Regions from separate parts of the Homo sapiens genome. Here region 1 is linked to region 2. The links are contacts of gene promoters, found by promoter capture Hi-C in human tissues and cell types (Jung and others, 2019). All regions are on one chromosome and are shown on one strand. Each heading gives the region's core, a stretch centred on a gene start or on the middle of the fragment in contact. The rest is flanking DNA. Distances are from core to core; before and after follow the strand shown.

Region 1 (4,504 bases), core at 729-3,228, 340 kb after region 2:
GCGCACGCGCCCCTCGGGTCACCAGCCCTGTCGCTCTTGGTGGGGCACACCGAGGAGACCGCCGTGGGGAACCGGGGACCGGATTGCCTGACAGCCGAGCGCTGAAGACTACTCTTCCTGAGCCTAGGGAGGTCTGGCTGCCCTGAGCCCCCTACCCCTGGGCTTTGGGCAGTAAACGGTACCTAGAGACTCTATCGCGCTGAGGTTGGAAGAGCCTGGAGCCAGGCTACGAGTTTGAGTCCCGGCTCTCCCACTTATTAGTTGTGTGACTTTAAGCAAATCTCTTAACTTCCCAGAGCCTCAGTTCTCCATCTGTAAAATTAAAATAATCTTGGATTTTACTTCTTTGGACTGATGTGAAGATCAAGGGTGATCATGTATGTAAAACATTCAACACAGGGCCTAGCACAGAGTAAACCCTGAATAAATGCTACTTATTGAAAATTTTTTAGCTCCCTCCTTGGTGGTGGTGGGGTCACTCCAACCTGGCCTCAGCCATTAGTGCTTGGAGGGTCCTCTTTCACAGCCCCCTCGTTGGATGTCCCTGTGTCCTTCTACTCCCAGCCCTGGATGAGGTGAGCGACCTCAACCTTGGGTAGGGAAGGCCAGGGAATCATTTTGCCCATGGTGAAGGGTCAACAGGGAGAGTGTGAGCCGGCGGGGGGTAGCTCTCGGGAGAGGAGAGGCTGGGATGTCATTCTTTAGCAGCCGGCCAGTCGCCTCCGAATGGCTGAATCCTCCCCGGTGGGCCGGATAAAGGAGGGCGAAGGAGGAGCGGTGGAGCAGCCCGACCTGGGCCTCAGATAATGTGACAAATATTTTGATGGAAGCAGACACGTTTCGGTTTATGCAACCTAAACACTTTGCTGCACTTGAGGAAGAGGAGAGCCTCCCACAGCCTGATGGGGAGAAGAGTTAGGGGGCGGCGGAGGAGGCTGGGGAGTGAGGGAGGAGGAGCTGAGGGGCTGGATGAGATCCACCCCTCATCCTGGAGGCTGGAAAAGGGGGTTACCCCTCAGGGACGTATTTGCATCTGTCAGCATGGAGAAATAACGTGGGGGTGCCCACCTTTTTAGGATCCCCTTTTCTCCCTGGTCTAGAGGCAGAAGTAAAGGGATTGAGCAGAGGGAGATGGAAGAAAAGGGCCCAGGAAAAAGCAGCCTGGCCACAGTTCGGTGAGGAAGGGGCAGAGGCGAGGAGGGGTTGGAAGCTCCTGCCCCACCTCGGGGGAGACGGGTCCCGGAACAGTCAGATCCAGAAAGGAGGAGGCGGCTGCCGTCTGGCTCCGCTGGGCCCCCGGACAGGCATTCATCCGATATCTGGATCTCCCAGACGGGTGGTCTGCGAGGCCTGAGTGCCAAATGGTCCCCTCCGTATCCTCTTCTTCGCTTCATAACCCCCTTTCTCATCCTACCTTCCAGCTCCCCGCTCCGTCCTCCCCTCAATCGCTCTTTGTCCCCTGCAGACCTGGGCGCTATCCCCTCGCTTCCGCCCCCTGCGGGTCTTGGCCCGTCGCGACCCCAGTCCCTCTGTTTTCCTGGTGACCGACCCTCGAAGCCTCTCCTCTCCCGATCCCCTCGGAGCTCTCTAGCTCTCCCTGTGGCCCTCTCTCCCTTTCGCATTTTGGTCCCTACTCTCCCCTTCCCTTGGAGCGCCTCTCGGGTCTCTCGGACCCCGGCCCCCACCCCATTTCCGAATCTCGGTCTCCGCGTACTCAGTCTCTTCTTTCCTCTCCCTGCTCCCGCCCGGGGTCTCCGCGGCCCCGCCCCCTTATGCCCCGCCCACCTCGAGGCGCCCGCGGCCCAATTAGGCGCCGGCCCCGCCCGCAGCCCCACCCCTAGAGAGCCCAGAGCCGCGCGGAGCTGGCGGGGCGGGGCCCGGCCGAGGGGGCGGTGGCCCGGCTCAAGGAGGCGGGAGGAGTCAGGCGGGAGGCTGCAGGCGGGAGGCGGGAGGCGGGAGGCGGCGGCCGCGGCGCTCAGTCCGGCAGCGCAGCAGGAGGGAGGCGCGAGGCAGGAGCCGGCGGCTGGGCTCCGCAGCGCAGCCAGCGCAGCGCGGCGCCCCGGGCCCGGCCCCATGCCCGCAGCCCCGCCGGACCGTCCTTGAGCGCGGGCGCCTAGCCCGCGCCCCCTGCCCGCCGGCACCATTGCCCCGACGGCGCGGCCGGGCGGCCCGGCGCTCCCCAGGCTCCGCGCGGGCCGAAAGACGCTGCTAGCGGCCGCCGCGGGTGTGGTGATGCTGCTGGTGCTGGTGGTGCTCATCCCCGTGCTGGTGAGCTCGGGCGGCCCGGAAGGCCACTATGAGATGCTGGGCACCTGCCGCATGGTGTGCGACCCCTACCCCGCGCGGGGCCCCGGCGCCGGCGCGCGGACCGACGGCGGCGACGCCCTGAGCGAGCAGAGCGGCGCGCCCCCGCCTTCCACGCTGGTGCAGGGCCCCCAGGGGAAGCCGGGCCGCACCGGCAAGCCCGGCCCTCCGGGGCCTCCCGGGGACCCAGGTCCTCCCGGCCCTGTGGGGCCGCCGGGGGAGAAGGGTGAGCCAGGCAAGCCGGGCCCTCCGGGGCTGCCGGGCGCGGGGGGCAGCGGCGCCATCAGCACTGCCACCTACACCACGGTGCCGCGCGTGGCCTTCTACGCCGGCCTCAAGAACCCCCACGAGGGTTACGAGGTACTCAAGTTTGACGACGTGGTCACCAACCTAGGCAACAACTACGACGCGGCCAGCGGCAAGTTTACGTGCAACATTCCCGGCACCTACTTTTTCACCTACCATGTCCTCATGCGCGGCGGCGACGGCACCAGTATGTGGGCAGACCTCTGCAAGAATGGCCAGGTGGGCCAGGCGGGGGCATGGGGCTGGGCTGGGCCCAGGGCACCCAGGGAGCCCGGGGCAAATGGGTACCTGATCGGAGTTGGCGGGGGCGCCAGGCGGACGCAGGTGGAGATCCCACCCCACAGCGGCCCCGCTTGGTCATCACGTGTGGGGATGGTCGGAGCCAGCGGACATCGCCGATCCTCAGTTCCTGGGTTCCCGCTCCAAGACAGACGCTGCTGGGCACCGTCTGGAACGCTACTGGAAATGCGGGAAATGAACCCAACTAGTCAGAGCGCAGGGCTCCCAGGTGCACGGACTTGCCCTTGGGGGCTTGCCCCTTGGGAAGTGGATTCGGGCCGACAGCAGTGGGCGATAAGGGGAGGGCAAGGATGGGCTCTGGCGTATGGAACAGGGAGAAGCAGCATCCGCGCCCGCGGGCGCCTAGGCGCGTGGCCATGGGCGCGAGCGGAGAAGGCTGGCTGCAGGAAATGTTTGGGGCACAAAGGCAAAGGGAGCCCGGTGCTTACAGCCCTGGCTGCAGTGCCTCCCCTGCCCTGGAGAAGGGACCATTGGGCGAATCTGACACCCTTTGCAAAATCCGGGAGTTGGGGAGCTGTTTCCCACTGTAGCAGAGCTTCCCCAAAAAGAAGGCAGTCTGGGGGGCGGGGGAGTTTTTCCTCCTGAGGCGGGGAGGGGGTGGGGGGTGGGGGGTGGTGGAAGAGATGGAAACTCCCCCTCCTCTTGGTCTCCCAGCTCCAGCCCCTCCTGACTCTGGAGTGTGTGGGGTCCTCTCCATTCTCCGTCCCCATCTCAGACGCTGCAGCTGGAAAGCACTGAGTGTGTCGGGGACTCTGGTACCGGGACTCGCATGTGCGTGTAGCTCTCCTTGGAATGGCCGACCCCAGGACCAGCCTCCACCCAGCCCCGCCCTGGGGTGACAATTTTAGCCAGCTCTCTTGATACCACCTCCCTTCCCAGTGCTCTCACTCGTGGTGGCCTGTGACCTGGGGGTGTGGTCAGGCTGAGCATTCTCTTCGAAGAAGGGGACCACTGGTCAGAACTAAAGCTGAGCTAGTGGAAGTTGAGAAGGAATCTCTCACGATTAAGATACAAGACCTTGTTGGAACCCTTCCCACAGCAGCACTGCCCTGAGGCTCTGCCAGCCTGCGGGTCTGCAAGTCTTAGGGGCAGAGACAGGGGCAGGCAGGGAAAGTGAGCAGATAGCCTGCCAGGTGCTTATAAGTCAGCCCTTCTTCTCTTTCCTCTGCCTGGCTGCTGCCCCGCCAACACCTTTTCTCTGGTTTCTGCCTCTCCCCTGCCTCTTTCTTCTATTTTGCTGTTTCTTGTCCATCTCTCTCCTGTGTCTGCCTTTTCCATCTCTCCCTGGGTTTCTGGCCTCTCCTCCCCGGATCTAACCCCACTCTTCTCTATTCCTTGTATGTCTCTCTTTCCCACGTGTGTCTATCAGACATCCCCGTGTCTCTCCTCTTTGTCCTTGGTTCCTGACCAAATGGGAGGCCCCAGTATCCAGCAAAGGCTCATTCTGCAGACAGCCCCATGATTCCCCCTATTAATCACCAATAAGGGATGCAGCAATGTCACCTTCATCAATGGAATGTCTTCCTTTCCCAAAGAAGTTTGGGCTGACACAGAGCTGAGGTTTCAGGGGATTGGCAGCTTGCCTGGATAGGGA
Region 2 (4,284 bases), core at 775-3,274:
TGCTTGGGCACAGTGGCTCATGCCTGTAATCCCAATGACTTGGGAGGCTAAGGCAGGAGGATTGCCTTTTAGGCCAAGAACTGGAGACCAGCCTGGACAACATAGTGAGATCCACCTCCAAAAAAAAAATTTTTTTAAACTAGCTGGACATTGCCAGGCGCAGTGGCTCACACCTGTAATCCCAGCACTTCGGGAGGCCAAGACAGGCAGACCACTTGAGGCCAGGAGGTCAAGACCAGCCTGGCCAACATGGTGAGACCCGTCTCTACTAAAAATACAAAAATTAGCCAGGTGTGTTGGTGGGCACTTGTAATCCCAGCTACTCGGGAGGCTGAGGCACAAGAATCACTTGAACCTGGGAGGCAGAGGTTGCAATGAGCCATGATCGCACCACTGCACCCCAGCCTGGGCGACAGAGCAAGACTCTGTCAAAAAAAAAAAAAAAAGATTAGCTGGGCATGGTGGTGCTTACCTGTAGTCCAGCTACTTCAGAGGCTGAGGTGGGATGATCACTTGAGCTCAGGAGTTCGAGGCTGTAGTAAGCTATGGTTGTACCACTGCATTCCAGCCTGGGTGACAGAACAAGTCCTCTTCTCAAAAAAGAAAATATAGTTCAAAGTAGAATCAGACAGTGAGTAGCCAGCTAATAAACACATAACTGACCACCTCCCACCCCTCCAAGTGAGAATTGGGAGGGCAGTGACCACACTGGCACATCCCATAGGCTTGGTGCCACTAGAGAGTTGTAGGCAGGTAGATCAAGGCAGTGCTTCTAGGTAACTGGGTTCAGCATTCCAAGAAGGCCTTTCAAGGGTTTCAACAGAGAAGGCTCTTGGTCATCCTCATATTCCTGCTGGCCAGCACGGTGCCTGAAACATGGTAGCCACTGATTAAATATTTGCTGTTGAGTGAAAGTACAAGACTTGAATCCAAACTCCTCCCGCTAAGCCCTGCTGGCCTCGGGGAGGACGAGAGAGCCGTGGGCTGTTTCATGATTTACCCTCTTTTACCAAAGAATCGTGTGAGATCCTCTGAGAATATTCCTCATCATGCCCCATGTCCCAAGCCCTTTTTTACCTTCCCAAGGGAGGACAAGAATATGACCCCTCATTATAAAGGGACCCCTCTGCCACTCATGTCCTCAAGCTGGTTACTTGGTCCAGCTTGTCAAAGAGCATGTGGGGCAGCATCTGAAATGAGGCCAGGGTCAAGGTTGCCCCGCCACAGGGCGGAGCTGGACCTGTGCCTCCTTCCATGCATTGGAAGCCTTCTGTGGAAGCTGAGTTCTTTGGGTTTCTTGTTTATTCTGAAGTTCCTCAAACTAGTTCCTCAATTTCAGAACCAGTCACCAGTGACTACAATGAACTTGAATTCTCCTATACAGGGAGCCTGAGCCTGTCTTTCTTCATCTTTTCTGAACACAGGTAGACGCTGCTTGAAGCCACTCCCACCTCTGAAAACCAGATTTCTAAACCCAGAAAGGAGCGGTGGGTGGTTGTATTTCAGCGAGATTGACCGTAGCCTAGGGAACTTCTTGCTCAGAATCCACCCCAAAAGGTTAAATAAGGAGAGTTGTTTTTCACAACCAAAATGCTGCTTGTAACGATGATCTCAAAGCTTGGCAAGATCACAAAGTACGTTTTGAGTCATCAAAGAAACTGGCTGTGTTTCACATGATTTTAGTGTCAAGGGCAATTATGGCCATCTAATCTTTGGAAATTGGTCATGTTAAGTGGCATACAGGGCAGCCCCCACTTAATCAGAATATTCAGTTACACAAAATACCCTAAGTTGCTGATTTCGATGACACTTGAAATTTTTTTAATTAATTAATTAATTAATTTTTTTTTTTAATTTTTTGAGACAGAGTCTCACTCTGTTGCCTAGGTTGGAGTGCAGTGGCACAATCTCGGCTCACTGCAACCTCCACCTCCCGGGTTCAAGCGATTCTTGTGCCTCAGCCTCCCGAGTAGCTGGGATTACAGGCACCCACCACCACACCCAGCTAATTTTTGTATTTCTAGTGGAGGCAGCGTTTTGCCATGTTGGCCAGGCTGGTCTCGATCTCACAACCTCAGGCAGTCCGCCCGCCTGGGCCTCCCAATGTGCTAGGATTACAGGTGTGAGCCACCACTCCCGGCCTGAAAAATTTTTTATACAATATACATTAAACATTCCTTGTTGCTTATTGTATAAAATTAAGTACACGTGTGACAGGTTTTTATCTCAATACTACCTTGCCCGACATGTTCTCCTGCATATTGGGTCTTTGTGGATCCATGATGCCCCCTGTGGCGTCTTTTCTATTTGCTGTTGGCTCTCCTTGTGCAAAGGATTTGAAGGTTGAATTGAAAATACCATTGTAATACTTCTCTTTTAAAGCTTATAAAATGCCCTGTATCAGGGCCTGGGGGCAAAAGTACTGATGAAATTTATGAAGATAGCAAATGATGCTCGAGTCTTTGTTATAAAAAGAATGGTAAATAGGTTCAAGAAGCCTGCAGCCAGGCTTTGTAAAGTGAATGGCAAATTTGCATTTGTCATAGAATTTCTCCTTGGAATGGGCCTGGCTATGTCAGGCCTGGGTGGGCTGAGGAACACAGGCCCACCACAAGTCCAGCTTGGAGTCTTTCTTCCCTGTTGTCATTTTAAAGTTGCTTTTTCCAGAACATAGGCTGGCTGTAGTTCATGCTTCCTAATTAAGGTGCTTCCTCCCAGGCCAGTCCCTGAATTTCTCACTAACCTTTGACTTGTGACAGCTTCTGCATCTCGGTCCCAATTTTTAAAGCTTAGATCATTTGGGAGTAGGAAGAGTGTCATGGTTAAGAGTATGGGCTTTGACATAAAAGTCTCTTGTGCAAATCCTGCCGCTGCCACTTCACTGCTGTGTGGCCTTGGGCAAATTACTTGGCCTACTGAGGCCCAGTTTCTTCCTCCTTGTAAACGGATAACATTAGTGCCTTGCTCACAGAGTTGTGAGGATTCAAGAAAAAAATGCACGCATTACCTAATACATGGCAGATAATAATAGCTGTCATTATTATTCATTTGTATGATTACCAACAACCAGCATGTAGTTATGTGTATACAAATAGCAGATTGTTGTAACACTCAAAGATGACCACAGGACAACTAATTTCAGCTTTAGCTGCCAAGGAATTGTGGGTCCCAGTTCATCACGCAGAGCTGAGGCACTGCCAGTGGACACAGAAGCCAGATGGGGTGTGCAGAATGCTCTTCAAAGAACATCTTCATGGGTTCTTGCCGACCACTCTGTCCCTCTGCTTTCAGGATTGTCCTCCTCCTGCTTTGACCACATCTGTTCCAGACTTTCTGTCTGATGCTAGGGCTGCTGGCTAGAAGCTGTGGGAGGTAGGCTTCAGTGCCTTATAGCAGCAACTTTGAAGCAACTTAACACTTATAGACCATGACTCACATCTGTAATCCTAGCACTTTGGGAGGCTGAGGTGGGCAGATCACTTGAGGCCAGGAGTTTGAGATCAGCCTGGCCAAGATGGCACAATCCCATTTCTACAAAAAAATAAATAAATGAAATTAGCCATGCGTGGTGGTACATGCCTGTAATCCCAGCCACTTGGGTGGCTGAGGCATAAGAATCGCTTGAATTCGGGAGGTGGAGGTTGCAGTGAGCCAAGATCACACCACTGCACTCCAGCCTGGGTGACAGCAAGACTCTGTCTCACAAAAAAAAAAAAAAAAACGGCCGGGCGCTGTGGCTCACGCCTGTAATCCCAGCACTTTGGGAGGCCGAGGCAGGTGGATCACGAGGTCAGGAGATCGAGACCATCCTGGCTAACATGGTGAAATCCTGTCTCTACTAAAAATACAAAAAATTAGCTGAGCGTGGTGGCGGGTGCCTGTAGTCCCGCTACTCAGGAGGCTGAGGCTGGAGAATGGTGTAAACCCGGCAGGCAGAGCTTGCAGTGAGCCGAGATTGCGTCACTGCACTCCAGCCTGGGCGACAGAGCAAGACTCCGTCTCAAAAAATAAAAAAAATAAAAAAACATAAAACCAAAAAAAATCTTACACTTCCAGTCATACAAAGGTCTGACTGCTCATCTTGTAGCGGCTTCCATCTCACTGGAGGTTCCACTGATGTTTCCAGAGTGCCCACTGCATGCCAGGCACTGTGCTATGTAATTTAAACTTTGTTCCTTGCATTGAGTCACCGTGTAAAATTCTATCATGTAGGTTTGAGGATCCCTATATTACAGATAAGACTCCTGAGTCTCAGATTATGTGACCTGCCCATGGTCACACACC

What was found. Contacts are between HindIII fragments. The study calls those that stand out against the background at their distance.
Region 1: the fragment with the promoter of C1QL1 here is called in contact with a fragment that was not itself captured in region 2 in 1 of the 25 tissues and cell types used here (hippocampus).

What each region holds. Positions count from the first base shown.
Region 1 is chr17:44,965,777-44,970,280 of GRCh38, reverse strand. It overlaps C1QL1 (complement C1q like 1), which reads left to right and starts at 1,978. Exons shown (of 2, transcript NM_006688.5): 1 at 1,978-2,829. The coding sequence starts at 2,233. It also overlaps the pseudogene LOC112268183. RefSeq lists a silencer at 1,688-2,047. The HindIII fragment of the contact is 17,092 bases long and covers 1-4,504 here.
Region 2 is chr17:45,304,834-45,309,117 of GRCh38, reverse strand. All of the region lies in intron 1 of MAP3K14 (mitogen-activated protein kinase kinase kinase 14), which reads left to right. Among named protein-coding and RNA genes, the nearest start is that of MAP3K14, 10 kb to the left of the region's middle. RefSeq lists an enhancer at 1,267-1,406. The HindIII fragment of the contact is 4,981 bases long and covers 1-4,284 here.